Linked DNA regions of Homo sapiens: regions 2, 3 and 4 are each linked to region 1. Evidence: promoter capture Hi-C in 16 types of primary human blood cells and fetal thymus (Javierre and others, 2016). All regions are on one chromosome and are shown on one strand. The core of a region is centred on a gene start or on the middle of the fragment in contact, and the rest is flanking DNA. Distances in the headings are between cores, read along the strand shown.

Evidence for each region. The method cuts DNA at HindIII sites, captures the fragments that hold promoters and counts their contacts. A CHiCAGO score of 5 or more calls a contact.
Region 2: a fragment that was not itself captured here is called in contact with the fragment with the promoter of SNX18 in region 1 in 17 of 17 cell types (monocytes, M2 macrophages, naive CD8 T cells and 14 more); the score reaches 58.9 in monocytes.
Region 3: a fragment that was not itself captured here is called in contact with the fragment with the promoter of SNX18 in region 1 in 1 of 17 cell types (neutrophils); the score reaches 7.6 in neutrophils.
Region 4: a contact is called between a fragment that was not itself captured here and the fragment with the promoter of SNX18 in region 1, in 13 of 17 cell types (neutrophils, total B cells, naive B cells and 10 more). The highest score is 19.4, in neutrophils.

What each region holds. Positions count from the first base shown.
Region 1 is chr5:54,515,348-54,522,347 of GRCh38, forward strand. SNX18 (sorting nexin 18) reads left to right here and starts at 2,412. Exons shown (of 2, transcript NM_001102575.2): 1 at 2,412-4,226. The coding sequence starts at 2,606. RefSeq lists silencers at 2,166-2,407, 2,288-2,847 and an enhancer at 3,320-4,264. The HindIII fragment of the contact is 5,643 bases long and covers 1,251-6,893 here.
Region 2 is chr5:54,842,613-54,849,612 of GRCh38, forward strand. It overlaps the pseudogene CSPG4BP. Among named protein-coding and RNA genes, the nearest start is that of LINC02998, 100 kb to the left of the region's middle. The HindIII fragment of the contact is 9,684 bases long and covers 1-7,000 here.
Region 3 is chr5:54,816,639-54,823,638 of GRCh38, forward strand. It overlaps the pseudogene CSPG4BP. Among named protein-coding and RNA genes, the nearest start is that of LINC02998, 76 kb to the left of the region's middle. The HindIII fragment of the contact is 7,986 bases long and covers 97-7,000 here.
Region 4 is chr5:54,797,854-54,804,853 of GRCh38, forward strand. No RefSeq gene overlaps it. Among named protein-coding and RNA genes, the nearest start is that of LINC02998, 57 kb to the left of the region's middle. The HindIII fragment of the contact is 7,306 bases long and covers 1-6,106 here.

The DNA.
Region 1 (7,000 bases), core at 1,162-3,661:
GGAGGGATGGAAAGCCCCATGGTTCTGACCGAATGAAGCGATGATGTGGCATGGTGGATCTCCCGGGGAAGAGGGCTCCAGGGAGAGAGAAAAGCGAAGGCAAAAACTTCAGCAAGAAACGTGCTTGACTTGTCCCAAAAATAGCAAAGCAACCACTGTGGCTTCTTTCAGTGGAAAAGGGGGCTGGAAAGATAGCCAAGGGCCAGGCTATCTAAGGCCTCTCAGGCCAAGGGAGGAAGTAAGAAAATGCAATTGTTTGGGGTCATTTAGTGTCCCCTAAAAACTTTACAGAAGCATATGGGTGGTTATAATGATTGTGTAAACTAAACTGTGAATAATATGCTCCATTTTCTAGAGAAATCTTTACAAAATGTGTTACTGTATCTATTTCCCTGAGTGAACAGTTATAGGTTGTTAATACTGGAGCACAATTTTCTACATATCTAAGACCCTCTAGAGGTAGGGGTTTTCCTGCCACTAGTGGCCATAGGGCCAAACATCATGACAGCCTGTCCTCATCCTTCTGGAAGCCTGATGCGCGGCAAGCACAGAGGCCTCCCACTGGACTCCTACAAAGTAAGCACCTGCAGACGCCCATGCCCCAGTGCTACAAACAACCTTGGACACCCAATAATTCCTCAACCACCATTTCTACAGAGTAGCTCAACCAGTCTGTAAAAAATCATCACCTTAAACTCCTGGAATTTTCACACCTGAAATAAGCCCAAAGTTACTGTACTTAACTCTAATCTAAAAAGTAACTACTAAACGAACAGAAGGGGCGAAACTAAATTTATTTATCTTACATATTCTAGGTTAGCTTTTCAGAAGTAAAATGAGTCATATTCTAGAGGTTTAGTTAATGTGGACTTCATGTTTCTGACCACATGAAATGTTGGCATTGAAATTCAATGATCCCTGTTGCTTACTGTGAGAATAGTCAAAACCCAGAATTTTCAGCTAAAAATGTAATTTAGAATATGCTTACTGAATTGAATTAAGGTTTTGCATTAGGATAAACACTGTGGGAGTGATTCTGGTATAGTGGGTTTGTGTTTTTGTGCAAGATGCTTACAATACCACAGCCCTTAGAATAATTGTACACTCTTCTGGCCCGTTTCCCAGGTTTCCTTGAAAAGGGTCAGAGGACAGGCTGAAATTAATGACACATGAATGCAGAACCTCAATTAGAAGTGTCTTCAAAGGAATAATTAGGCTAGACTTAATAAGAGGGGATTAAGAGAAGAAAAAGCTTTGGGCAAATTATACACTGAAGGAAAGGAAGATAGGAAACAAGGCAACGATAGATTGGAGCTGATTATTTCAGGAAGTGATTTTTGTTCTATTTATCTTAAAAATAATATAAATATAGTGAGACATAGAGACAACAGATGGATGGATGGTCACTGACCTCTTACTAGGAGTGGCAATGTGAACATTGGGACGCTTCCTGGTGCATGTACCCTGCAATTGTTAGTTTAGTACCCCTATTCCCTTTGTGAAAGAGGCCAGGGATTTTGCTTCCCCCAAATAACAGTAACAGCAGCAAAAGCAGCAACAAACCCTTCAAATCTGCTTACCCTGCCAGATATTGTTTCACTTTCCTCATCTGTAAAATAGGGATTACTTTATGATGGAATCCCCACAACAACCCCCGGAGGTAGGTACGATATAAGTGCCTTGTTCCAGGTCATACAGCTAGGTAGTGTCAGAACACAGATTGAAATTCAGAAGCCTGGCTCCGAAGTTTGAGCTCTCATTCACCGCACTACATATATCTATGGGAGGATAGGCGACACATGCATGTAATAAATGTGTGAGCATTTATTGTACTGGAAACTCTCCAGCTCCTCCCTCTCTACATGATCCTTTGCTTCTAATTTTGTCAATCACAGCACCTTCCCTGGCCCTTACTTTGTTCTTGCCAATCTCCTCTCCTTGAGCAGAAGAGGGAAGGGAGCCTGCTCTGTAGGTGAACAGCTCCTCCGCAGAGGCATCCTGTTTTCTTAGTGCAATCACTAATTCGCATTGCAAAATGCTTTATTACATGACTGGGTTGCCATTCTAGGAGCATTCACTGAGCGCTCAGAGTGGGAACGTTTATCAGGCATGCAAATGCTAACTTACTTTCTAGAGAATGTTTAACTTAAAAGCCTAAAGAAATCTCAGATAATTCACTTCGGAGTAGAAACCTCCTTCAGCCGCGCTCACTACGGCGCCCGGCTTCGCGGCACCGGCCACTAGAGGGCAGTGGCCGCCGCAAAGCCGACGCGGGCGGTGGGCTCGGCGGCTCGGCCATCGCTTGCTCTCGCCTGGCAAGGGGCTCTCGGCCGTGGATTAGCGCAGCTGGAGACGTGGGAGGCCGCGGGCCCCGCCCCCGACCGGCGGCGGCTGCGGCGGCCCAGCGCGGCAGTCGGCGCTGCGAAGTGGAGGCGCTGCGAGCGGAGCCGCGCGGAGGGCGCGACCGGCTGGTCCGGGCAGCGTGGGTTTGCCGCCTTCGGGGCTCCAGTCCGCGCGCCAGGGCTCGAGCAGTACCGCGGGCCCCTCAGGTGGGCCTCGGCTCGGGACGCCGGGAGTCGGGACCGCCAGTCGGGGCGCCGGGACCATGGCGCTGCGCGCCCGGGCGCTGTACGACTTCAGGTCGGAGAACCCAGGAGAGATCTCGCTGCGAGAGCACGAGGTGCTGAGCCTGTGCAGCGAGCAGGACATCGAGGGCTGGCTCGAGGGGGTCAACAGCCGCGGCGACCGCGGCCTCTTCCCGGCCTCCTATGTGCAGGTGATCCGCGCCCCCGAGCCTGGCCCGGCGGGAGACGGCGGCCCGGGCGCCCCGGCCCGCTACGCCAATGTGCCCCCCGGGGGCTTCGAGCCCCTGCCTGTCGCGCCCCCCGCCTCCTTCAAGCCGCCGCCTGACGCCTTCCAGGCGCTGCTGCAGCCACAGCAGGCGCCGCCTCCGAGCACCTTCCAGCCGCCCGGCGCGGGCTTCCCGTACGGCGGGGGCGCCCTGCAGCCGTCGCCTCAGCAGCTCTACGGCGGCTACCAGGCCAGCCAAGGCAGCGATGATGACTGGGACGACGAGTGGGACGACAGCTCCACGGTGGCGGACGAGCCGGGCGCTCTGGGCAGCGGAGCATACCCGGACCTCGACGGCTCGTCTTCGGCGGGTGTGGGCGCAGCCGGCCGCTACCGCCTGTCCACGCGCTCCGACCTGTCCCTGGGTTCCCGCGGCGGCTCGGTCCCCCCGCAGCACCACCCGTCGGGGCCCAAGAGCTCGGCCACCGTGAGCCGCAACCTCAATCGCTTCTCCACCTTCGTCAAGTCCGGCGGGGAGGCCTTCGTGCTGGGGGAGGCGTCAGGCTTCGTGAAGGACGGGGACAAGCTGTGCGTGGTGCTGGGGCCCTATGGCCCCGAGTGGCAGGAGAACCCCTACCCGTTCCAGTGCACCATCGACGACCCCACCAAGCAGACCAAGTTCAAGGGCATGAAGAGCTACATCTCCTACAAGCTGGTGCCCACGCACACGCAGGTGCCGGTGCATCGGCGCTACAAGCACTTCGACTGGCTGTACGCGCGCCTGGCGGAGAAGTTCCCGGTCATCTCCGTGCCCCACCTGCCCGAGAAGCAGGCCACCGGCCGCTTCGAGGAGGACTTCATCTCTAAGCGCAGGAAGGGCCTGATCTGGTGGATGAACCACATGGCCAGCCACCCAGTGCTGGCGCAGTGCGACGTCTTCCAGCACTTCCTGACGTGCCCCAGCAGCACCGACGAGAAAGCCTGGAAGCAGGGCAAGAGGAAGGCCGAGAAGGACGAGATGGTGGGCGCCAACTTCTTCCTGACCCTTAGCACGCCCCCCGCCGCTGCCCTTGACCTGCAGGAGGTGGAGAGCAAGATCGACGGCTTCAAGTGCTTCACCAAGAAGATGGACGACAGCGCGCTGCAGCTCAACCACACGGCCAACGAGTTCGCGCGCAAGCAGGTGACCGGCTTCAAAAAGGAGTATCAGAAGGTGGGCCAGTCCTTCCGCGGCCTCAGCCAGGCCTTTGAGCTGGACCAGCAGGCCTTCTCGGTGGGCCTGAACCAGGCTATCGCCTTCACCGGAGATGCCTATGACGCCATTGGCGAGCTCTTCGCGGAGCAGCCCAGGCAGGACCTGGATCCCGTCATGGACCTATTAGCGCTGTATCAGGGGCATCTGGCTAACTTCCCGGACATCATCCACGTTCAGAAAGGTAAAGCCTGGCCCTTAGAGCAGGTGATATGGAGTGTATTGTGCAGGCTGAAAGGGGCGACTTTGACAGCAGTACCACTGTGGGTTTCAGAATCATATTCTACAGGTGAGGAAGCGAGCAGAGACGTGGACGCCTGGGTCTTTTCCCTAGAGTGTAAGTTGGATTGCTCGACAGGCAGCTTCCTCCTCGAGTATCTTGCATTAGGGAATGAGTACTCTTTCTCGAAGGTTCAAAGAGTACCTTTGATGACAGTGCTATCATTTTAGAGTTTGAATAGTTGAGTAATGAGCTGCTCAAATCTGTAATCTTGAGACGAGGGTAGAATTAGAAGGGGACCTAAACCATGTTAGGTATCTGTTTGAACACTGCACTGTCACTTAGTGGTGAGTTTCAAAAAGTGAGGAAATAATGGAGAAGAACGGATGTCTGTAAATAGAAATCTGCTTTCACCCTTCCACACCTCTCAATCTCTGCTTTGGTAGAGGAATTAAGATCAATTCTCTGAGTTTAAGAAATTCCTGCAAAGAATTCTTGCCTGCAACCTTTACGAAGTGAAGTAATTTCAGGAAAAGCGTACTCATTTTGAGTTTGAAATCTATTAATGTACTGAAATTGAGAACGTTGTTTAGGAAAATTGTTTAGGGAAACTACATAGAATGAATATAATCTGAGTATTGGATCTGAGAGCAGCGTTGCTGGTATCCCAGTGAGTTAGCTGTCCAACTATCAGAGTTCATGAGTTATTAATAGTTGTTAGTGTCTCTGACCTTTGCTAAAGCACCAGAATTTGCAAATTAAAAAAATATATAGCAGTAGTGCTTGTCTTAACATTTCTTACTAATGTGCATTCTCATATAATGCCTTGATTGAGAGAATGGGGAGGTGTGGGAGTTAGGGAGGCAGTCTTGCCTGTGAAAGTCCAGTGTAGGGGCGGCTGGGCAGGGAAACCTACTCCTGAGCAGGGAAACCTACTGTCCCTGTTTCCTCAGCGGGTCTGGCCTTTACTGGTGAAGTGCTCACTGCCTTTCTGGTGGGCCAGTCCGTTTATGAGCAACCCTGATCTCTGGCATGTCTTTTCTTGTATTGAACTGAAGTTTGCCTCCCTTGATTGTCTTTCTGTTCCCTGGGACCGCCTTCAGACATTTGGAGACAGCAGTCTCGCTTCCTTCCTCTCTGCTTCTCTCCTTCCCCTTCCAAATGCGTGACTGGTCTTCTGACTCCTATGGGGGAAGGGGCTTGCTGGGAGAATGATCAAACGTTTTCAGTCTTGTTGCTGCCGCTGAAAGGGAGTACCCTGGACATCAGTACTAATTTTAGTAGACAGTAGTAACTTTCTTGGCAATTTGCGATTTGTAAATGCAGTCTAATATTGAATTCGTTTTTTGTGCAATCATATTGCTGTTGGCCTGTATTAAACCTGTATTTACATTACCTATGCCTTTTTTTAAAACATAAATTGTTATGAATCTTTGACTTTTTTGACTGGTGTTGGTGGAACTGCCTTTGTGAGCCTTTAATGGAGGGATTTAGCATTTAAATTCCATTGTGTTACATCATTCTGGACCTATGCTGGCTGCCCTTTTACACATTTCTGTGAGTTTGTGCAAATTACTGGTGAACAGTTGAAAGGATGGAACCAAGTACAGACACTTGGACATGTGTGCTGGGCCGCTGGTGTCTGTCTACTTTAGGTTGGCATCAGTTCATTCACTGTCAATCACACCATGCACTCAGGCTTTGTCAAATGGCCTGCTTTTGAAATTATATATTAGAAAAGGTATGGTGTGTGTTCTAATATCTATTTTGAGTTTACAGCAATGGTCTACTTAGTCTATTAAACCATCTGGTTATGGCCAGGGTCACGCCTGTAATCCCAGCATTTTGGGAGGTCGAGGCAGGAGGATTGCCTTAAGGCCAGGAGTTCGAGACCAGCCTGGGCAACATAGGGAGACTCCCTTGTCTACAAAAAATAAAGAAGTTAGCGTGGCATGGTGGCTCATACCTATAGTCCTAGCTACTAGGGAGGCTGAGGCTGGAGGATTGCTTGAGGCTAGGAGTTAATTTGAGGTTGCAGTGAGGCATAATTGAACCATTGCCCTCCAGCTTGGGTGACAGAGCAAGACCCTGTGTCCAAAACAAAAAATATATAGCTTATTTACTTCTTTATTTATTTTGTAGAGACAGGTGTCTTGCTATGTTGCCCAGGCTTGTCTCTAACTCTTGGGCTCAAGCAATCCTTCCAGCTCAGCCTCCCGAAGTGCTGGGATTACAAGCGTGAACCACCATGCCCGGCCTAGTTTATCTTTTTTAAATTATAGAACTGGATTTGTCTCTAGTCACTTGGGATTTGAAAAACTTCCTTCATTAAAACCAGTATCATTTTATGTGGCTTAACAGATTCAAGAGCACTAAACATAATCTCTAGGAACTTTGGAAAGAACAGCAGTTGATATTCAGTATAGTTTGTTTCTGCTGTAACCTTGGTGTGTAATGTACAGTGAACCTGTGTCCCTGGATGACACATCTTTAGAAAATACTACCATTTAAAGTGACAGTGTGCGATACATAAGGCTAAAAGCATTTGCCTATAACCAGTGTTTATCAAGGATGCTAGTGTAGGCCATTTTTAGGAGTATAGATGAGACAAACATCATAAGCCAGGATAAAAGCTTTCTGAGCGTATTCAGGACTTGTGGTTGTAAAGAGCATCTCAATTCCGTCACCTCCCCAACCCCAACTGTTACACACTTGAAATATGGCTAATGTGACTAAGG
Region 2 (7,000 bases), core at 1,894-4,393, 330 kb after region 1:
TTTGGCTTCTGTATCAGGAATAGACTCTGGGAGGTACAAGGTAGAGGCAGAGAGACCAGTTAGGAGGTGACTACAATAATTCCAGAGAAGGATGACAGAAGAGAGTGGCCCCAGAAGTTGCAGAGGTGGTGGGAAGTGGCCAAATTCTGGGTGTCTGTTGAAGACAAAACCAGCCGAGCTTCTGGCTATTTCAATTTGGCGAGGTGTGAAAGAAGGAAAGGCGGTGAGAATGACTCTATGGTTTGGGCCTCAGAAACGAGGACAGGGTTACCATCAGTTGAGATAAGGAAAGCTGAATGTAGAGTAGATTTGGGGAGTAAGATCAGGAGTTCAGTTTTGAACATGGGTTTAAAATGTTTATATGGACACTGAATCACATTTGATGGAATTTGGCTGTTTTGAGTTTCTCTAATCATGCAGCCACAGGATACTTCACTAACACTAAAGACAAGTAGTTTTGTCACTAACTCAAATTTCACATTTATATCTGTATTTGTATTTATATGTATTTTTCTTACCCACAGAAACACCATGTGCACATACCCATGCATAAGAACTTTATCATCTTCTACGCTTTTTCATAACTTGTTTAAAAATTCAGTCCTAAATGACTTAATAGATGATCTCTCCAGTTAAAGAGAACCATTTCCCTCAGTAGAAAGAGCAGTTTGTGAAATAACTTACTCCAATTAGATGATGGATGGCATCATCTAATAACTAAACAGAACTTGAGACAGGAAACTCAGAAAGTATATAAGATTCCTATGTTTTCATGTCAGGCATAATGGGGCTGGAAGATAATCCATTCTGCTTCCTTCTAATACACCAACTACTGATAACACAGGAAAAAAAACTACTTTGTGAATTATCCTTTAATTTCTTAAAAGTTAACAGATGAGACCATAAAGTAATTATACATAAATAAATACCCACATACTCCACATATATACACATGCGCATGCACACACACACGAACTTACACTGCCAAACCAATGTTTAACTCCTCAAAGTAGTTATGTTGAAAAATAACATGTGCCAATAACAATAGCACTACTTGAAATTCTTTTAAATATTTTCAGGTTGTTCAAGAATGCTTGATTTAGTTTCTGTCCAGTTAAACCACCTGGGTTTGGGTCACTGCTTTGTTGCTTACTAGCTATATAACCTTGGGCACATTTCTTAACCTCTCTCTGCCTTAATTTCCTCATCAGTAAACTAGAAATGATAGAGCTGTTGCACAGACTGAGTGACTTAATATATGAAAAGTGTTTAGAACTGTTTCATCAGGCACATAGTAAGCATTCAATAAATATTAGCTTTATATGACCCATCTTCTTCATCAGATTTGGCTTTGAGGACAGATGTGACTTTTTAGTATTTCCAAAAAGTCACTTAGAGTGTGATTATTGCCATTATTGAGGCTATTCTATAACATGTACTGCAGATTTTGTTTAATCTTCCAGCATTCTTTCATAACTTGGGGTGAATAGTTTATCTGTTTAATAATTGTGTTGTTGATGGACATGCCTATATCTTGCCATTTGAATATGCCTACTGAAGATTTTGCAGCACTAAGCTCTAAGGACATCAGCTTTTAAATAGCTACCAGAAATGCGAATCAATACAACGTTCAAATAATAAGGTTTTGGCCTTCATTTAAACCCACAGAAAGGCTATAATAAAATGCGCAAGTTGGACTGTTTAACAAAATTCCAAGCCCACTCATTCTGGTTTTTCACTTTTTACATTTTTTAATCCATCCACATATCTCATCCTCATTTCTTCTAGAGCTCCAGCTGACTTGGAAATGTGCTGCCATTTCTCTTCTCGTGACTTGTAGAAACAATCATTTTTTCCAAGGCCATACACACCAAGGCTGGACAAAGCATGTTTTCCACTGCAGCTACTCTGCTATGGAACACTGCTTTCCCTCCCTCTCGCCTCTGAAATATACCATCTTCCAAAACAAATGGAAAACCTGCCACTCAAAACAAGATCTAGTAGCCTCAGGTCTCATTTCCACTCAAACCAAATTTAGTTCAATTAACGACCCCATTGCTTCAGGTAAGGCCTGATTTAGTGCCCAGTGCTTGGTAATGGAAACTTCAGGCAGATGAGGAGAAGGAAAACAAAGACCCCCAATTTGAATTCAGATTTTAAAGTGATCCAAAGCCCAAAAAAGAATAGTTCAAAGCATAAATATCAGAAAATAACACAAACCTGGAATAATAATTTTTAAATTGACCTTTAGCTTTAAGAAGAGTTTAGTGGTATTTAGAAACCTAATTGTGATCCCATTTAATCCTAGTTGTAAACTTAATATTTAAAAGCCCAGACCTTTGGAGGCAGAGGTTGCAGTGAGCCGAGATCGTGCCACTGCACTTCAGCCTGGGTGACAGAGCAAGACTTCGTCTCAAAAACAAACAAACAAACAAACAAACAAAAACAACAAAGCCTAGACCTTTGTTGCGTTTCATACGAGGGATGTGAAATGCTCATGAATTCACTCTCCCACTGTTGGTCCCCCGAGAGCTTCAATTGGCATTTCAAACTTTGCTGCCTTAATTCTTCTACTGTGACCAGCTCTCAAAGCTCCTTTTAGTGATGACAAGTATTTCTCAAAAGCAAGCAAATGGTTCTATTTTCAGTATAAAAACAACAAAACAAAATGTATAGTATTACTGAAAGAGGAACTTGAAAAATAGGAAAATGAAGCCCCCTTGTGGACAAAAATATGTTTTATCAGATATGCACAAAATTCACTGATCATATTTGAATACAAAAATACTCAGTAGAATATATTTCAAAGTAAAATGCAAAGGATTCACCCAAGATGGCCTAACTCCAATTCCCAATTCCAGTTTGTTGGGACACAAATGATCTCTTGTACCATTGAATGACCTTGGAGATCAGCTGAAAGAACTGTGGCTTAAGGAAATGTTTTAATTTGTCAGGAGAAAGAAGTGTGTTTTAAATGGTGGGACACAGAGGTTAACATTCTGATTGCTGGCTATGAACTCCCTCCAGAGTCTGAGATGTTATCAGCAACTCTATCCCCCACGCTCCCACCTTCTTCTCCCACTTAGGCTGCAGACAGACTTTCTTGCCACCTCCTCCAGGCCCAGATGACAAGTAGGGAGAGTGAGTCATCATGCAGGATAATCCGAATGTCTTGAGAACATGCTGTTTGAAAAGTCAGAAACAGCACTGAATCTGAAGACTTTATCACATTTGCATTTGCATAACTGCCTTTGCCCCAGACTCTGCCACTAACTTTGTTATTTTGGGCAAATCGCTTAACCTCTTGATCTTTAATTCCACCTTCTTAAAATTGGAATAAGAGCAATACTCTCTTTATCTGCTTCACCAGGTCCTTGAGCTTCTTCGCTAACTATGAAGGAAGAAGTGAGAGAACACTGTGGTGCCAAACTCAAACTCGCATTCTAGCTCTGCCACTTGCTGTCCACCAGCAGCCCTTCTGCTTTGGACCTTGGAGAAGTGTCAAAGCCTCTCTGCATTGCAGATTTCTCATCTTTAAAATAAAAATCATATCCCAGAGAGTTGTTGAAGATTCACTGGGTAAATGTAAAGCGCATAGAACAATGCCAGGCACTGTAAGTACTATGTAAGTAATAACTATCATTAGGACCATGTAATGGACCATGTAAATGGTTGTTATTATTACTGTTTGATATGCTCTGAAATATAGAAATAAGAAACATCATCATCTGAAATAATCTCCTAAGTTTAAAACTTTGCCTGGAAAGAAGTAACTGGTAACCATAGCTTTGGAGAAACTATGTTATTGAAAACTGCATTCTCGTGGCTCTACTATGTTGATAAAATGCATATGCTATATCTATTAGCTTTCACAAAAAAGTAAACACACCTGATGTGTGAAAATTATTTAATAATGTTAAAGGTTATCAATTTATGAGAACACTCTGCAATTGATCAATACACACAGTCTTTCCAGAAAGTTTCTATGCTCATTTGCCATTGTTATTACACATTCTAGTGGATAAAAGAGATACCACACTCCAATAAAAAATGAGGGGCAGATATTAAAAGGATGTTTTAAGGAATCGCCACACTGACTTCCACAATGGTTGAACTAGTTTACAGTCCCACCAACAGTGTAAAAGTGTTCCTATTTCTCCACATCCTCTCCAGCACCTGTTGTTTCCTGACTTTTTAATGATCGCCATTCTAACTGGTGTGAGATGGTATCTCATTGTGGTTTTGATTTGCATTTCTCTGATGGCCAGTGATGGTGAGCATTCCTCAAGGATCTAGAACTAGAAATACCATTTGACCCAGCCATCCCATTACTGGGTATATATCCAAAGGACTATAAATCTTGCTGCTATAAAGACACATGCGCACGTATGTTTATTGCGGCACTATTCACAATAGCAAAGACTTGGAACCAACCCAAATGTCCAACAATGATAGACTGGATTAAGAAAATGTGGCACATATACACCATGGGATACCATGCAGCCATAAAAAATGATGAGTTCATGTCCTTTGTAGGGACATGGATGAAATTGGAAATCATCATTCTCAGTAAACTATCGCAAGAACAAAAAACCAAACACCGCATATTCTCACTCATAGGTGGGAATTGAACAGTGAGAACACATGGACAAAGGAAGGGGAACATCACACTCTGGGGACTGTTGTGGAGTGGGGGTAGGGGGGAGGGATAGCATTGGGAGATATACCTAATGCTAGATGACGAGTTAGTGGGTGCAGCGCACCAGCATGGCACATGTATACATATGTAACTAACCTGCACATTGTGCACATGTACCCTAAAACTTAAAGTATAATAATAATAATAATAATAATAATAATAAAAGGATGTCTTAAATGTCATAAATTGCCTACACAGGCTATCAAAATCAGCAAGGCCAATTCCTGGATGCCTCTTGGCTCTTTTTCATCAAGTCTAAATTATGTTGACATTGTTAATAGCCATTGTGATTAAATCATAAAATTTCAGTGCACAAGACTTCATCATTCTAAAATCCTGACAGCAATTTCATTCACATTATACTGTAGACACAAGGAAAGCAACACTGTGATTATACACCCTAATCTACATCCCTTTTTCTTGGAATATTTAAAATTTCATAATGTGTTATTTTTCTTCCTTCATAACTTTGGGCCACAACAGCAGTATATAAAGTGGATCAGTCAGGTTTGCAGACAGTGTGGCTGGTACTTCCATCCCAACCTCCTTTCCTGCTGAAACGAACAAGGCAGAGGCGCAGGGTCAAGGGCAGTCAGGGTTAACCAGCAGGCAGGGCTGGGACCTTGAGGAGTCACAAGGAGACTTCAAAGCTGAGGGCAACAAACCTGACTCCCCACCTAGAACACAGAGCCCTCTTACGTGTGGTAATGTATCCTGATAAAGCGGGACTTGGGGCTTGTTATAGGCTGTGTCAACTCTAGCACTACTCTATAGTACCAGTTTCTAGTGTCCTGGTGGATAGAAGTTCTAGTAGATGAACTTCTGGGACTTGACTCAATCCCATAAACATTATTATCCCAGATTATCCCAGAAACAGGTGGAGTGATGAAAAAATGTGTGATTCATATCTACAAAAGAATCTAGCTTTGCTAGGTCAGTAGCTTACAATGTTTTTTCATTAATACCAAAACTAAAGAATACATTTTTCAAAGCAACCTAGTATGCATATATATATTCTTATGTGTGTGTGTTTAAAACTCTATATATATGAAGCAAAATTTTCACAAAAAACAATATTTACCCTCATTATACACAACACATTCTGATACTACCCATTCTATTTAATTTTTTAAAAAATTGGTTCTGACTCAATTAATTTCACAGCCCACGCCACAGGTTGCAAGTGGGGGCTCTGGGCAAAGACATCCTGGCCACAAGACCCGCCCGCTCTTCTAACCATATGACTTTGGTCAAGTAACTTAACCTTTCTGTGCCCCAAGTCTGTTGCAGTCTTCATTTTATTTCAAGAGTCATTGAGAGAATTAAACGAGAAATCATTTAATCATTTATGTGATACTTTTAGAACTGAGCCTGAGTCTTAGCAGGGGGTCAATAAGTGCTGGCCTGCTTCCCTGTCATTATCTCTGAAAGGCCTGTGGAACAAAACTGTCTGGCGCTGGGGGGTCCTTATGCCCAGAAATCAACTCTCACCATGGAGAGATATCTATTCACTCTCCTCCTCCCTCCATCTGCTCCAGTCACATGAGCTTTCCATGTCGTCAAACACGCTCCAGACTCACTGTCTTTGCCCTTAATCATTCTTCTGCCTCGAGTGCTCTTCCCTCTAACATGCCTATGGCTCCTCACTTCCCAGTCTAATCACCCTCCCCCAGCTTCCCACCTTTACTCAGAAAAGAGTTCACCTCACAGGCTGAAGGTTGCCTGTCCTGAGAAAGCCCTGCTCAGAAGGTTGGCACTGCACTGGTATCTGGGAACTCGGCTATTAAACAGTTTCCCATGCTAATATAAAACTTCCCCTAAATTATAAGGGAGGCTTGCTGTGTCTAAATTGCTTGTATAAATAATGTGATTTATGCTGGACACCTGCTTCCTTCTGGGGGCCAGGGATTTGGGTACATACTAAGCAGAGGGTGTCTACCTGACTGGCTCCCAGTAAAAATCCTGGGCACTCAGTATCTCATGAGCTTCCCTTGTATCAACACTTTGCATGTGTCATGACAACTCGTTGCTGGAGGCATTAAGTGCATCCTAGGTGACTTTCCTGGAAAAGGACTCTTGGAGCTTGACCCAGTTTCCTCTGGACTTCACCCCATGTGCTGGTTCCCTTTGCTGATTTTGCTTCACATTTTTTACTGTAATAAATCTTAGCCATGAGTATGCTAAATCCTATGAGTCCTTGCAAATCAGTGGGGGAGATCTTCGGAGCCACCCACACACAAGCCTCCATGCAAATATCACCACCTTGAACAGACCTTCCCGGACCACCGTCTCTGTAGCATC
Region 3 (7,000 bases), core at 2,840-5,339, 300 kb after region 1:
CCAAAAAAGAGAATTTTAGACCAATATCCCTGATGAACATCGATGCAAAAATCCTCAATAAAATACTGGCAAACTGAATTCAGCAGCCCATCAAAAAGCTTATCCACCATGATCAAGTGGGCTTCATCCCTGGGATGCAAAGCTGGTTCAACGTACGCAAATCAATAAACGTAATCCAGCATATAAACAGAACCAATGACAAAAACCACATGATTATCTCAATAGATGCAGAAAAGGCCTTTGACAAAATTCAACAACCCTTCATGCTAAAAACTCTCAATAAATTAGGTACTAATGGGATGTATCTCAAAATAGTAAGAGCTATCTATGACAAACCCACAGCCAATATCATACTGAATGGGCAAAAACTGGAAGCATTCCCTTTGAAAACGGGCACAAGACAGGGCTGCCCTCTCTCACCACTCCTATTAAACGCAGTGTTGGAAGTTCTGGCCAGGGCAATCAGGCAGGAGAAGGAAATAAAGGTACTCAATTAGGAAAAGAGGAAGTCAAATTGTCCCTGTTTGCAGATCACATGATTGTATATCTAGAAAACCCCATCGTCTCAGCGCAAAATCTCCTTAAGCTGATAGGCAACTTCAGCAAAGTCTCAGGATACAAAATCAATGTGCAAAAATCACAAGCATTCTTACATACCAATAACAGACAAACAGCGAGCCAAATCATGAGTGAACTCCCATTCACAATTGCTTCAAAGAGAATAAAATACCTAGGAATCCAACTCACAAGGGACGTGAAGGACCTCTTCAGGGATAACTACAAACCACTGCTCAAGGAAATAAAAGAGGATACAAACAAATGGAAGAACATTCCATGCTCATGGGTAGGAAGAATCAATATTGTGAAAATAGCCATACTGCCCAAGGTAATTTATAGATTCAATGCCATCCCCATCAAGCTACCAATGACTTTCTTCACAGAATTGGAAAAAACTACTTTAAACTTCATATGGAACCAAAAAAGAGCCCGCATTGCCAAGTCAATCCTAAGCCAAAAGAACAAAGCTGGAGGCATCATGCTACCTGACTTCAAACTATACTACAAGGCTACAGTAACCAACACAGCATGGTGCTGGTACCAAAACAGAGATATAGACCAATGGAACAGAACAGAGCCCTCAGAAATAATGCCGCATATCTACAACTATCTGATCTTTGACAAACCTGACAAAAACAAGAAATGGGGAAACGATTCTCTATTTAATACATGGTGCTGGAAAAACTGGCTAGCCATATGTAGAAAGCTGAAACTGGATCCCTTCCTTACGCCTTATACAAAAATTAATTCAACATGGATTAATGACTTACATGTTAGACCTAAAACCGTAAAAACCCTAGAAGAAAATCTAGGCAATACCATTCAGGACATAGGCATGGGCAAGGACTTCATGTCTAAAACACCAAAAGCAATGGCAACAGAAGCCAAAATTGACAAATGGGATCTAATTAAACTAAAGAGCTTCTGCACAGCAAAAGAAACTACCATCAGAGTGAACAGGCAACCTACAGAATGGGAGAAAATTTTTGCAATCTACTCATTTGACAAAGGGCTAATATCCAGAATCTACAATGAACTCAAACAAATTTACAAGAAAAAAACAAACAACCCCATCAAAAAGTGGGCAAAGGACATGAACAGACACTTCTCAAAAGAAGACATTTATGCAGCCAAAGGACACATGAAAAAATGCTCACCATCACTGGCCATCAGAGAAACGCAAATCAAAACCACAATGAGATACCATCTCACACCAGTTAGAATGGCAATCATTAAAAAGTCAGGAAACAACAGGTGCTGGAGAGGAGGTGGAGAAATAGGAACACTTTCACACTGTTGGTGGGACGGTAAAGTAGTTCAACCATTGTGGAAGTCAGTGTGGCGATTCCTCCGGGGTCTAGAACTAGAAATACCATGTGACCCAGCCATCCCATTACTGGGCATATACCCAAAGGATTATAAATCATGCTGCTATAAAGACACATGCACACGTATGTTTATTGCGGCACTATTCACAATAGCAAAGACTTGGAACCAAGCCAAATGTCCAACAATGATAGACTGGATTAAGAAAATGTGGCACATATACACCATGGAATACTATGCAGCCATAAAAAATGATGAGTTCATGTCCCTTGTAGGGACATGGATGAAGCTGGAAACCATCATTCTCAGCAAACTATCAGAAGGACAAAAAACCAAAGACCGTATGTTCTCACTCATTGGTGGGAACTGAACAATGAAAACACATGGACACAGGAAGGGGAACATCACACACCGGGGACTGTTGTGGGGTGGAGGGAGTGGGGAGGGATAGCATTAGGAGATATACCTAATGTTAAATGACGAGTTAATGGGTGCAGCACACCAACATGGCACATGTATACATATGTAACAAACCTGCATGTTGTGCACACGTACCCTAAAACTTAAAGTATAATAAAAAAAAAAAAAGAAAATGGACTAAGACACATCAATAAATGCTTTAGTAAGTATTGGTTAATGATGACTCTTAAAAACATAACCATAATACCATGATCACACCAAAATATTACAAATAATTACTTAGTATTTTCAAATATCCAAATGTTCAAATGTATCTGGTAATCTAGTACTTGTCTTTTTTTTTTCACTAGTTGCACTGTTGAGTCAGGATCCTAAGTCCACATCACATTTGTTTGATACTTCTCATAGATGTCTTTTCATCTATGGGTTCCTCTTCTCTAATTTTTCTTGGAATTTGTTTGTTGAAGAAATTGGGCTGTCTGTCTTGAGAGTTTCCCACATTCTGGATTTTGCTGACTCCATCCCTGGGATGTTGTTTCGCATTTCCTCTCGCCTCTGTATTTCCTACGTACTGGTAGTTAAATCTAGAGACTTAATAGGAATCAGGTTCAACTTTTGGATAAGAGTATTTTACAGGTTGTATTTTATATTTTCTCTTGCTTCTCATTGCAAAGCAAAATATTAGGTTGCTTCTCTCTTGGATATGTTAAGATTGACAGGTAGATTCAAGTGTTGGCAGGTTGGTCCTTCTATTTTAAGGTTCTCCATTAGCCTGTCACCTAATAGATTTAAAGAGTCATTGATACCATTGCCTAAATCCATTATTGTTGCAGTGGCAAAACACTGATATTCTTTTATCATTTCTTCTTTATTATCTGGAAGTCTTTTATAAGAAAGAACTTTCCTTCATCTGCCATTTGGTTATAGTGAGGTACAGGAAAGACAGGATAAATGCTTGATTCTTTCCCTTTATGTACCAAACTTTAATCACAGAAGGGAAGGCTACAGACAAAATATTTAGCCCTTAGTTTCTATGGGTCACTTCTTTTTCTGACCTGCTAGCTATTATAATACTCTGAGTTTACAGATGTGTTTTGTCAAGGTATTCTATGTCCAGTTCAAACATGCCTAAGATAAACTATCATGTAATTTACAGAGCAGTTGAGTCCACCTCATCAATCAATATCTAGAAATGCTATAGTAACTAACAGAAGTTTGGGTCTCTGAATATATGTTGCTTTGGCTCAATACTGATACAGAGGCTATATCTTCATCTCGAGTTCTAGAAAGGCTTTTGGTCTGGTGAGTTTCCATGGAAGATAAGCTCCCTGTCCCAAAGTAGCCAAAAACTGTTGGTGAGGAGTTCTTTCATTCTTAGCCCATTCAAGAATGAGGCAAGGAAATGCTGTCTTTTGAGGGTTTTAAATGGGAAGAAGAAAGAAAAATATTATCTCTAAACATTACCTTATAGAGAAACAAGGTTACTCAGGAGAAATTGAAGTTTCTCCAAATATAGCAATTTCTGGTACTAATGAGTGATTCAGTTCCCCAGCAGTTCCTGGGAAAGAAAGTCTGCTTTATTTGGCAGCCCTAGCATTTCAATTCCTAGCTTAAGATTTATGGTTAGTCATAAATGCATTTCCCCTCCCAGAAACAGGTGACTGTGCCATGAATTTTGGACCAGAGGATGCTTTTTATTCAGCTTGAGAGAGGCATCATATTATAAAGCAAAAAAGATCCATTTCCCTAAGATGAAAAGTAGCATAGTCTATTAACCAGGAAGAAAGATTTTCTTGGAAGCTGGTCAACCTTGTCCTTTGGTATAAGTGAAAATTAGCTTCCCTGAAAAATATATAAGAAGTTGTTAGAATAATCTAAGGATCTTCCGACGTCCGTGGTACAGAGAGTGATTGTCCCAGGAAAGGGATAGTGCTCACAGACAATTGAGATGAAAGTCAGAAATCTTCTGAGGGAAGAGATTGGGGAAGAGTTCTAAACATAGCTTTGTATTTCAGGAGCCTAGTGGAGGAGAGATCTGTTATAGGTTCTATTTTTAAAAAGGCATTTCAAGAGTATGAAATTAAGTGTGAATAACTAATTGCCTAATTTTACCCTGGAGAGTGACAGAGAGAATTTAATTAGATGCATCTTGAGTATCTGGACTTTAAGACTGGATAGGGCATTACTGAAAGTGCTGAGCTAGAAATAAAAGGGACTAAGGGTGCCTGTGGAATGTGCACTTGCTGGCCATGCCCTGAAAGAGGTTTGCAGGTGAGTAGGTTCTTTAATGTTCAGAAGAGAGCTTTTCCTTCTGCAGCTTTAAGAGCCAGGTTCCAAGGGGTGTGTGTGTATTAAGGAGAAGGCCAGGAAAGGCAGAATGAGACCAAGACTTCAGGAGAAAAAGTATAGGGTAAACCTGAAGAGAGAAGGATCTAAGAGAGGATTAGGAATTTTGTCACCTAAAATAGAAAATGGCCTTAGGAACAATTTCCAACAGCTCTACATATTTCCATGGTATTAAATATGGATAGATAAGCCACTTAGCTGAATACCTGGGCTCTGGGGTTAGGGAGAGGAGAGAAGAGAGGTTTTTATTTCTTATGGATTTAATTTAGCCCAGATATTTTCTCTTTAACAGATGAAATCTTTCTGGAATGTTGTTAGAAAACCAATGGTGTTGGATTTCAACTAATAAACATAGTAGGAAAAACAAAATGAGAAAAATCGACATTTGGCAACCTCTGCAACAATAAACATTTCAGGCAAGAATCCTAAAACTAGTGGGTGAAAATGTGATGAGAAACAAGCTATTTAAATCTTTCCAAATGTCTCCTCACATATTTATTAATTACAAAGGGGAGAACAGTACCTTCAAGTGGATAAACCTGAAAGCAACACCTGACCAAGTGACAGAGGTAAACATCCTCAGTCCTGGGCAAAGTGAGCCTTAGGGCCTCTGATGGGAAGCTCTGAGAACCCAGCAGCTCTCCCGGTATTCCTGCCCCAAAGGCACAACCTAAATAGATCTGATCATAAGGAAACAGGATAAAACACCAGGTAAGACCAGACTGAGGGATATTCTACAGAGAACTGTCCTGTACCTAGCAAGAAAATGGCAAGTTCATGAAAGGGAACGTGACTGAGGAATGATTCCAGCTTGAAGGAGACTAAATGTCAGAGGCATTCAAACCAGAACAACTCCATCTTGAGTAGGGGCTGGGTATAAAATAAAGCTGAGACCTGTTGGGCTGCATTCCCAGGAGGTCAGGCATTCTTAGCCACAGGATGAGATAGGAGGTCGGCACAAGACACAGGTCACAAAGACCTTGCTGATAAAACAGGATGCAGTAAAGAAGCTGGCCAAAACCCACCAAAACCAAGATGGCAATGAAAGTGACCTCTGATTGACCTCACTGCTCATTATATGCTGATTATAATGCATTAGCATGCTAAAAGACACTCCCACCAGTGCCATGACAGTTTACAAATGCCACAGAAATGTCTGAAGTTACCATATATAGTCTAAAAAGGGGAGGGGCCCTCAGTTTTGAGAACTCTCCACCCCTTTCCCAGAAAACTCATGAATAATCCACCCCTTATTTAGCATATGAGCAAGAAATAACTATACGTATATTCAGTCAGGCAGCCATTGCTGCTGCTCTGCCTATGGGGTAGCCATTCTTTCATCCCTTTACTTTCCTAATAAACTTGCACTCACTTTACTCTATGGACTCGGCCTCAAATTCTTTCTCGCTCGAGGTCCAAGGACCCTGTCTTGGGGTCTGGATTGGGATCCCTTTCTGGTAACATAAAGACATGGGACAATTAAACGCTACGTTTTATGCTGTGGACTTTTTCTTTTGCTAGAAAAAAATTTACTGAAACAACTTGTGAAATTTCAGTAAGGTCTATAAATTATGTAATAGTATTGTGGCAATGTGAATTTCATGGGTTTGAAAATTATACTGTGATTCTGTAAGAGAATGGCGTTATTTCCAGAAAAAACACACTGAAATATTTAGAGATAAAGGGGCATGGCAGCAACTGGCTCTCAAAGTCTCCGAAATGTGTTTGTGTATGTAAAGAGAAAAATGATAAAGCAAATGTGGTTAAATGCTAACATTTGGGGAATATGGATGAATATTATACATGAATTCTTTGTACTCTATTACAATTCTTCTGTAAGTCTGAAGCTCTTTCAAAATAGTTAGAACATGATACTTTAAAAAGTAAACTTCATAATGTTTTACTACATCAACTTCAACTTCAAGAAGGGACAAGTAATCCCTCTTCTCTGATGACTCAGAGTATGCAGAATGGGGGAGGGAGACCCACTCACAAATGCCTTGGACACTTAAAAATCAATAAGTAATTTTAAGATCAAGATATAGGGTCTAGTTGGTCCCCATACCTGCCCCATCTCACCACCACCACCCAGCTGCCTCCTCTAACCTAGGCCATTTCACTAAGACTTTAACGAGGCTGTAATCCTGCCTTGCCTATGAAAGGGTGGATATGTGGTTCCAAATCCTACAACTTCCCAGAGTAGTGCTGTTACAGGTAGTTAGGCATTAGCGGGGCAGGAGAGGGCTCTCCCCGACAACCCACTAGAAATGCCAGGTGATGGCTCGGCAATTATTGCATTGCCTCTCTAAAAGTGATAAATTGGCAGCTGGCACCAGGGAGAGGCCATTTC
Region 4 (7,000 bases), core at 1,204-3,703, 280 kb after region 1:
GCTCAATATTACAAAAATCAGCTGTATTTCTGCACAGATATAAACAACCCAAAAGTAAATTAAGAAAACATTTCATTTGTAATAAGAAGAATAAAATACTTAGGGATAAATTTAACCAAGGAAGTGCAGGTCTTATACATTGAAAATGACAAAAACATTATTGAAAGAAATTAAAGACCTAAATAAGTGGAAAGACATATTATGTTCATGGATGAAAAGACTTAATATTGTTAAAATTCAATAGTCTCCAAATTTATCTACAGTGTCAATGCAATCCCAAACAAAATCTCAGTTACCTTCTTTGCAGAAATTGACAAGCTGATTCTTAAGTTCATATGGAAATTAAAGGAATCCAGAATAGCCCAAATAATCTTGAAAATGAACAGAACAAAGTTGGATAACTCATACTTCTTGATTTCAAAACTTATAGTAATCAAGACAGGTTGCTACTGGCATAAAGATAGACATATAGATCAATGGAATAGAATTGGGAGTACACAAATAATCCCTCATATTTATGATCAATTCCTTTTTGAAAGGTCACAAAGACAATTAAATGGAAAAAAATAGTTTTTCTGACAAGTGATGCTGAGGCAACTAGATATCTACATGCAATACAATGAAATTGTATCACTACCTCACACTATATACACTATATAAAAAATTAACTCAAAATGGGTCAAGCATCTCATTGTAAGAGCTAAAATTACAAAACTCTCAGAAGAAAGCATAAACATAAATCTTCATGACTTTGGAATAGGAAATGGCTTCTTAGATATAATATCAAAAGTACAAGAAACAAAAAAATAGGTAAATTGGACATTACCAAATTTTAAAACTTCTGTGCTTCAAAGAACACCAACAAGAAAGTAAGAAGACAACCCACAGAATGGAAGAAAATTTTTGTATATTATATATATATATATATATATATATATATATATATATATATATATGATAAAGGTTAGTATCCAAAATACATAATAACAAAAAGACAAATAATAACAAAAAGACAAATAATAACAAAAAGACAAATAATCCAATTTTTTAAATGGCCAAATGGTCTGAATAGGCAGTTCTCTAAAGAAGACATACAAATAGCCAGTAAGAACATGAGAAGATGTTAAACATTGTTAGCTAGTAGGGAAATGCAAAGCCACAATAAGATACCACTTCACACCCACTAGGATGGCTAAAATAAAAAAGTGGTATAGTGAGGATGTAAAGAAATTGGAGCCCTCATACACTGCTTGTGGGAATGGAAAATATGGTAGTCACTTTGGAAAACAGTCTGGCAGTTGCTCAGATGATTAAACATATACAATACCATATGAACCAATCAATTTCATTTCTTCAACTTCATGTTTTCATACGTATATGAAAATACATATCCACACAAAAACATGCACATGAATATTTCACACAGAATTATTCATAATAACCAAAAAATGGAAACAACCCTAATGTTCATTAACTGATGAATGAATAAATAAATAAAATGTGGTATACCCATGCAACAAAATGCTATTCGGCCATAAAAAGGAACTGCTACATGCCACAACATAGATGAACCTTGAAAACATTATGCTATCTGAAAAAGGTGATCACAAAGACTACATATTGTATGATTCTATACACAGTCATGAGTCATTTAAGGATAGTGCTACATTCTGAGAAATGCATTGTTAGGCCATTTCAGTGTTGTACAAACATCACAGAGTGCACCTACACAAACCTAAGTTGTATAGCCTACTACATGTCCAGGTTATATTGTATAGCCTATTGCTCCTGGGCTACAACCCTGTCCAGAATATTACTGTACTGACTGCTGTAGGCAGTTGTAACACAATGGTAGGTATTTGTGCAATAAAAATTTTTCAGCTTCATTATAATCTCATGGGACCACCACCATATATGTGGTCTGTTATTGACTGAAATGTTGTTAGGCAGCACATGACCGTATATGAAACACCCAGAATAGGCAAATCTATAGAAACAGAAAGTAGATTAGTAGCTGCTTAGAGCTAGAGGAACTGGGAGTAAATGGTAAGTGACTGCTATGGGTACAAGAATTCTTGGGGGTAATAAAAATGTTCTAAAATTGATTGTGGTAATGATTGCATAACTCTGAAAATACTGAAAACTATTGAATTGTATACTTTAATTGAGTAGATTTTATGGTATATAAATATCTCAATAAAGCTATTATTTTAAAGAAGAGAGCTGATGTAGTCTTTGAAGAGGCAGGAACCATGTTGAAATGAAAAGCATGAAAAGAAGCCTTTCTAAAATATTACAAAATACAATAAATCTTGGTCTTGCTAAAAGTTGGGGTAAAAAGGTTATTGTTTCTGGGACCCAACATGATCAGCAGAGAAAGTGCACTGAAGAGTAAGGAGATGTTCGGCTAGAAGATGGTTCAGTGAATGCCTGTCCCCTCAACATGATTCCAAAAGAGAGCCTTGGGCCAGAGTCTCCTCATGGGCACAAGGGTCCCTGGCTGCCAACTGTGGGCAGAAAGCAGTGTCTCCACAGACCTGAGCTGCCGCAGGCAAGGGGCCTAGCAGAAAGTAGGTCCTGGAGACAAGTGACCCAGGCGTAACTGTGTGCCTAAGGGTCATGGAAGAGTCAATAGGCAATGGATCCCCAGCCCCAGAGTCTGTAATCGTAGGGGTCACAATCAGGGAGAATGTAAACTATTGTCTTCGCATGGGTTTCCTCAAAAGCAAAGACTCATCTGTGAGTGGGAGCAGGAGTGAGGAACAGGGATGATAAACAGGGAAGGAAAAGAGTCCACACACCAATGTATTGTGCTCAATCTTCAGGATGTTCTGAGAAGTCTCAGAGAATGAATTTCAGAACCGTTCACTTGGGAGATGAAACGAGGAAGCATTTATCCATAGGCTTCAGTTTTCCACTGGACCAGAGCCATACTTCTGGGTGGTGCAAGCACAAGTTCCCACCGTCATGCAGTGGAAAGAGAGGAGCCTTCAGGTGGGTAGTGCAGGGCACAGTGCACACTCATGGCTGCAAACATGCTTGGAACTTGTAGCCACAGCTAAGGCTGGAGCCAGATGCAAAGTTGAGAGAATTCTAAACTGTGCTGAAGAGGTGTCTGATGCAGCTATCAATTAAATTCTATGAGGACTCAGAAACATCTGCATAATTTGTGGGGCCCAGTGGAAAATGAAAATGTGGGGCCTCTTGTTAAGAAATTATTCTAATTTCAAGATGTGACACAGAGCATTCAACCAAACCCAAAGCCCTCTGAGAATGGGCCCTGTATGGCTGCACAGGTTGCATATCCATGGAACTGCTATTCTCTAGACCCTTAAGTAGCAAATTTGCCCCTCACTCTCACTCCCATTCCTCCCTTACCGCATATGTACACATGTACCAGGGACACCTGGCCACACCTTCTAAAGAGCACCAACATTGAGGAGCCTGAATTCCCCTCTGCCCTGGCTTCTGCCTCTGCTCTAATCAAAGCACCCATAAGCATGGCCTCCAGCGGTGAACTCCTGACCCTGATGATGTGTCCTGAGGTTTTCCCAGGCCAAAGTCAAATCTGGACAAAGAGAATTTTTCATAAAAATCTGTTCTTCCCACCATGAAGTTCTTTGTTCTAAGATTCTGCCCTTACTTTAAAAAATGGAATTACGGTGATAGTTGGATACTTTAAATTTTGCTAGGGATATTAATTTTTTTAAGTGACAGTCCTTTGTTAATTCTGGAATTAAAAAATAAATTACCAATTGATGAAAGCCTGAGACCAACCGGGTTGGGAGGAGGGAAGAGCAGGTAAGGGTTTCCCATCCAGGACGGGGTTGTGCAGATGTGATCCCTGCTTGAACAGGAAGCGAATAGGGCAGGGTATTTTATCAGTGGTTCAGCCCCCTCTGCAAGGTAAAGAACTCTCAATCTCTCTCAGCTTGAGTCTGCCCCTTGTAAATGTTCCTGGTGTGCTCTTTCCTTCATCCATTTTCTTACCAAGTCCCCATCCAAGGACCAAGGAAACGGCCCTGCATGGCAGGTAGAGTTTGAGCATTTGGGAAGTTCCCTTCCTAAACACACCTCTTCTATCCTAAATCGTTCACCTGAAATTCTACTACCAGTAATATACCACTTTGGGTAGAATATGAGCCTCTGGTTTATTCAGAGACTTCATAGATTAGTTCTTTTATAGTGCATTAAAACCCTAGGTAAGAAAATTCTGCCTGATGCATTGAAAATACTGTATGATTATTATTATTCTATTAATATCAGGCGATTATATCACTAAATCCTAACAAAACCCAGAGAGGTAGGTACTAATATCACTATCCCCATATTTTTGACTGATGAAACTAAGTTCAGAGAAATTGAATAAGTCACACTTCTAGGAAATAGAGGGCTATGATCCAAAACAGACCCAGAGTCGATTATTTACCCATTCTGCCATGTCACCAGACCTGGGGCACACCAAGGGACAGGGAGTGCAAAGCTGGGCGGAGAAACATGGAGGGTGGGGGACACACTAGAGTGGGCCATTGTGTTCCAACTCTTGCTGCCCCTCTGGATGGGCAGCACTCACTTATGAGCACTCGAAGTGAAAACACAAAGCCCTGTCCTAAGCTCTGCGTGTCTTTGTCCTATTTCTCCCATATCCTCATCTGTCCTGGCACTTCTAGTGTGACTCTAGAAGGGCCTACTAGAAGAAGCAGACCAAAAAGATCCTTGAGGGATACCATCTTGCATCTTCAGACCAGGGGGAGGACCTAGCATTTCATATACATGAGGCGCCTTATAAATGTTTGTAGATCTCTATGAGAAGGCAGCCTCAACCCGGTCTCTATGAAACAGCCAATGGTGTTTTTGTGTATCATAAGCAAAAGATCCATCATTCAGCAGGCCAAACAGTGGGCTCCCAGCCCACTCTCATCCTCATGCCTCTTCTCGCGCAGGGCTAAACCTCATTATTAATTATGATGCCTCTGAATGATGCAGGAGTGGATAGCTCAGTCCCATCCAAAATTCAGGATCCATCACCTGATATGTACCATCACCTTCCATCTACCCTCCAAATGTGTCCACTTCAGCTCCAGAAATCTGAAGAACCAGAGAGTAAAGCCAGCTTCTGTGTCACCTTCACCTCACCTAATTAATGCAGGACTATAAGGAAATGTACCCAGATGTTTGAGAAGGGACCGCTAAAGGTTGGAATCTGCCAAGACCTCTTAATATGAAAAAATGTTTTCAGGAGGTGAAAAAAAAAAAAGAGAGACTCTCCACTCCCAGCTTAGCCCAGAGTATACCTTCTCTTAAGCAAAAACCTGCCAGTCTTCTGATACTAACCTCTGCTATACACTTATTTATTCACCAGTCATTTGTTAAGAAGCAGTGACTCTGTTATGACAAAGAGTCAAAACTATTCCGTTATGCCTCTGCATATGGGAGAAGCCATTTCAGGCAGATTTTTCAATTTCTAAAACTTCAATTTTCAATGTTAAATGAAGTTTTGCCAAAAATATTTCTTTCACAGTTTGAGCCAGCACCAAATGGTAAGCATTATTTCCTTTTAATTGAACCCATCTGTAAATCAGTAGAATATTCCAGAGCCTCTAGAAGAAAACTTTCCAAACTCTCTGTTAATTACTTGATTAATCACTGAGGTTTGACATCTGGATCTCACACTGATATTCTGGCTCCAGCAGGCACACTCACAAACAATAACATGAATTATTATTGTTAAATATCTGTGTGTATCTCCTTCCAATATGGACACCAATTTTATGTGTGCAGTTGCAAAATTAAGAGGAAAAAGAGGAGGGGAAGCCAGACTGTTTTGTTTCGCCAGGCTGGTAATCCTAGCTCCAGAGACATTGTGGCTGAAGCAAGGAAGAGGCCCACATACTCACTGAGCCAAGTATGTCTGGCTTTTCCACAAAGAGCAGGCATTCTCCCTGCCCAGCTGATGGGGAACAAAACCCACTTACTGGATTTAGAGATGCTCCTCGACCTCCCCTGCATGTGCAGATTCAGGCACACACTGCCATCCTACTCCTTCTAAGTGCCTGGATTAAAACAGGCCTAAGAACGATTCTTGAGTTGCATAATGACCAAGCCAAGCTTGGGTTAAGCCTCTCATTCCTCCTCCTTTTAAACAAAACACTTGAAAGGGACTATACGATTCAGAAGTACAGACACTGGATAAAAGCACTTTTGGAAGAAGAGTAGAGAAATGTTCTTCAGCAACAGTTGTCCATGGCATTAGATCCAAGTATTTAAGGCATGGGTAGTCATCTCTAGGCCCAAACATGCTACGATTTCATTTATTCTGTAGGTTGTGAATTGTGTTTTCCTAAAGAGCAGTTAAAATTGAGTTGGGAGGGAAGTGTGACTCAGACGAACAGAAAAGAGATGGGGTGAGAACAAAACCTTTTCCATATGAAACATATTAGAGGCATCAGACTTCTGGGGACACTTTGACCTCATCTTTACCTTTGTGAATTTTCTGTCTCATTTTTACTCTCCCGATGTGTTCCACCTGTTAACACAAGGCAAAATATTTTCCTTAGATGAGTAATATGAAGAAATGAGCCTGCTGTCAAGTTTTGCTTGGTTTTTAATACATCCTCTTTTTTAAATGTCCATGTATACCACTAGCCAATCAGAGTTTCAAATATACCGTGGGATTTTCACTTTACCATGAAGTTTTTAGAATATACTTTTTGCCTAGACTTGGTAATAAGTTTATCCTTCATTGGTTATACAGGAAAACTCTTCATTGTGACTTAAACAGGGTTTCTCAATCTCTGCACTGTTGGCATTTTCAACCTGATAATTCTTTGTTGTGAGAGCTGTTCTGTGCCTTTTTGCATGTTTGGCAGCCTCCTTGGCTTCTACCCACTAGATGCAAGAAATATCCTTCCCCTATCAGCTTTGAAAACCACAAATGTCCCTAGCCTTTGCCAAATGTACTCTGGGTGGCATGTCTCCCCTCACACACACCCCCATCACG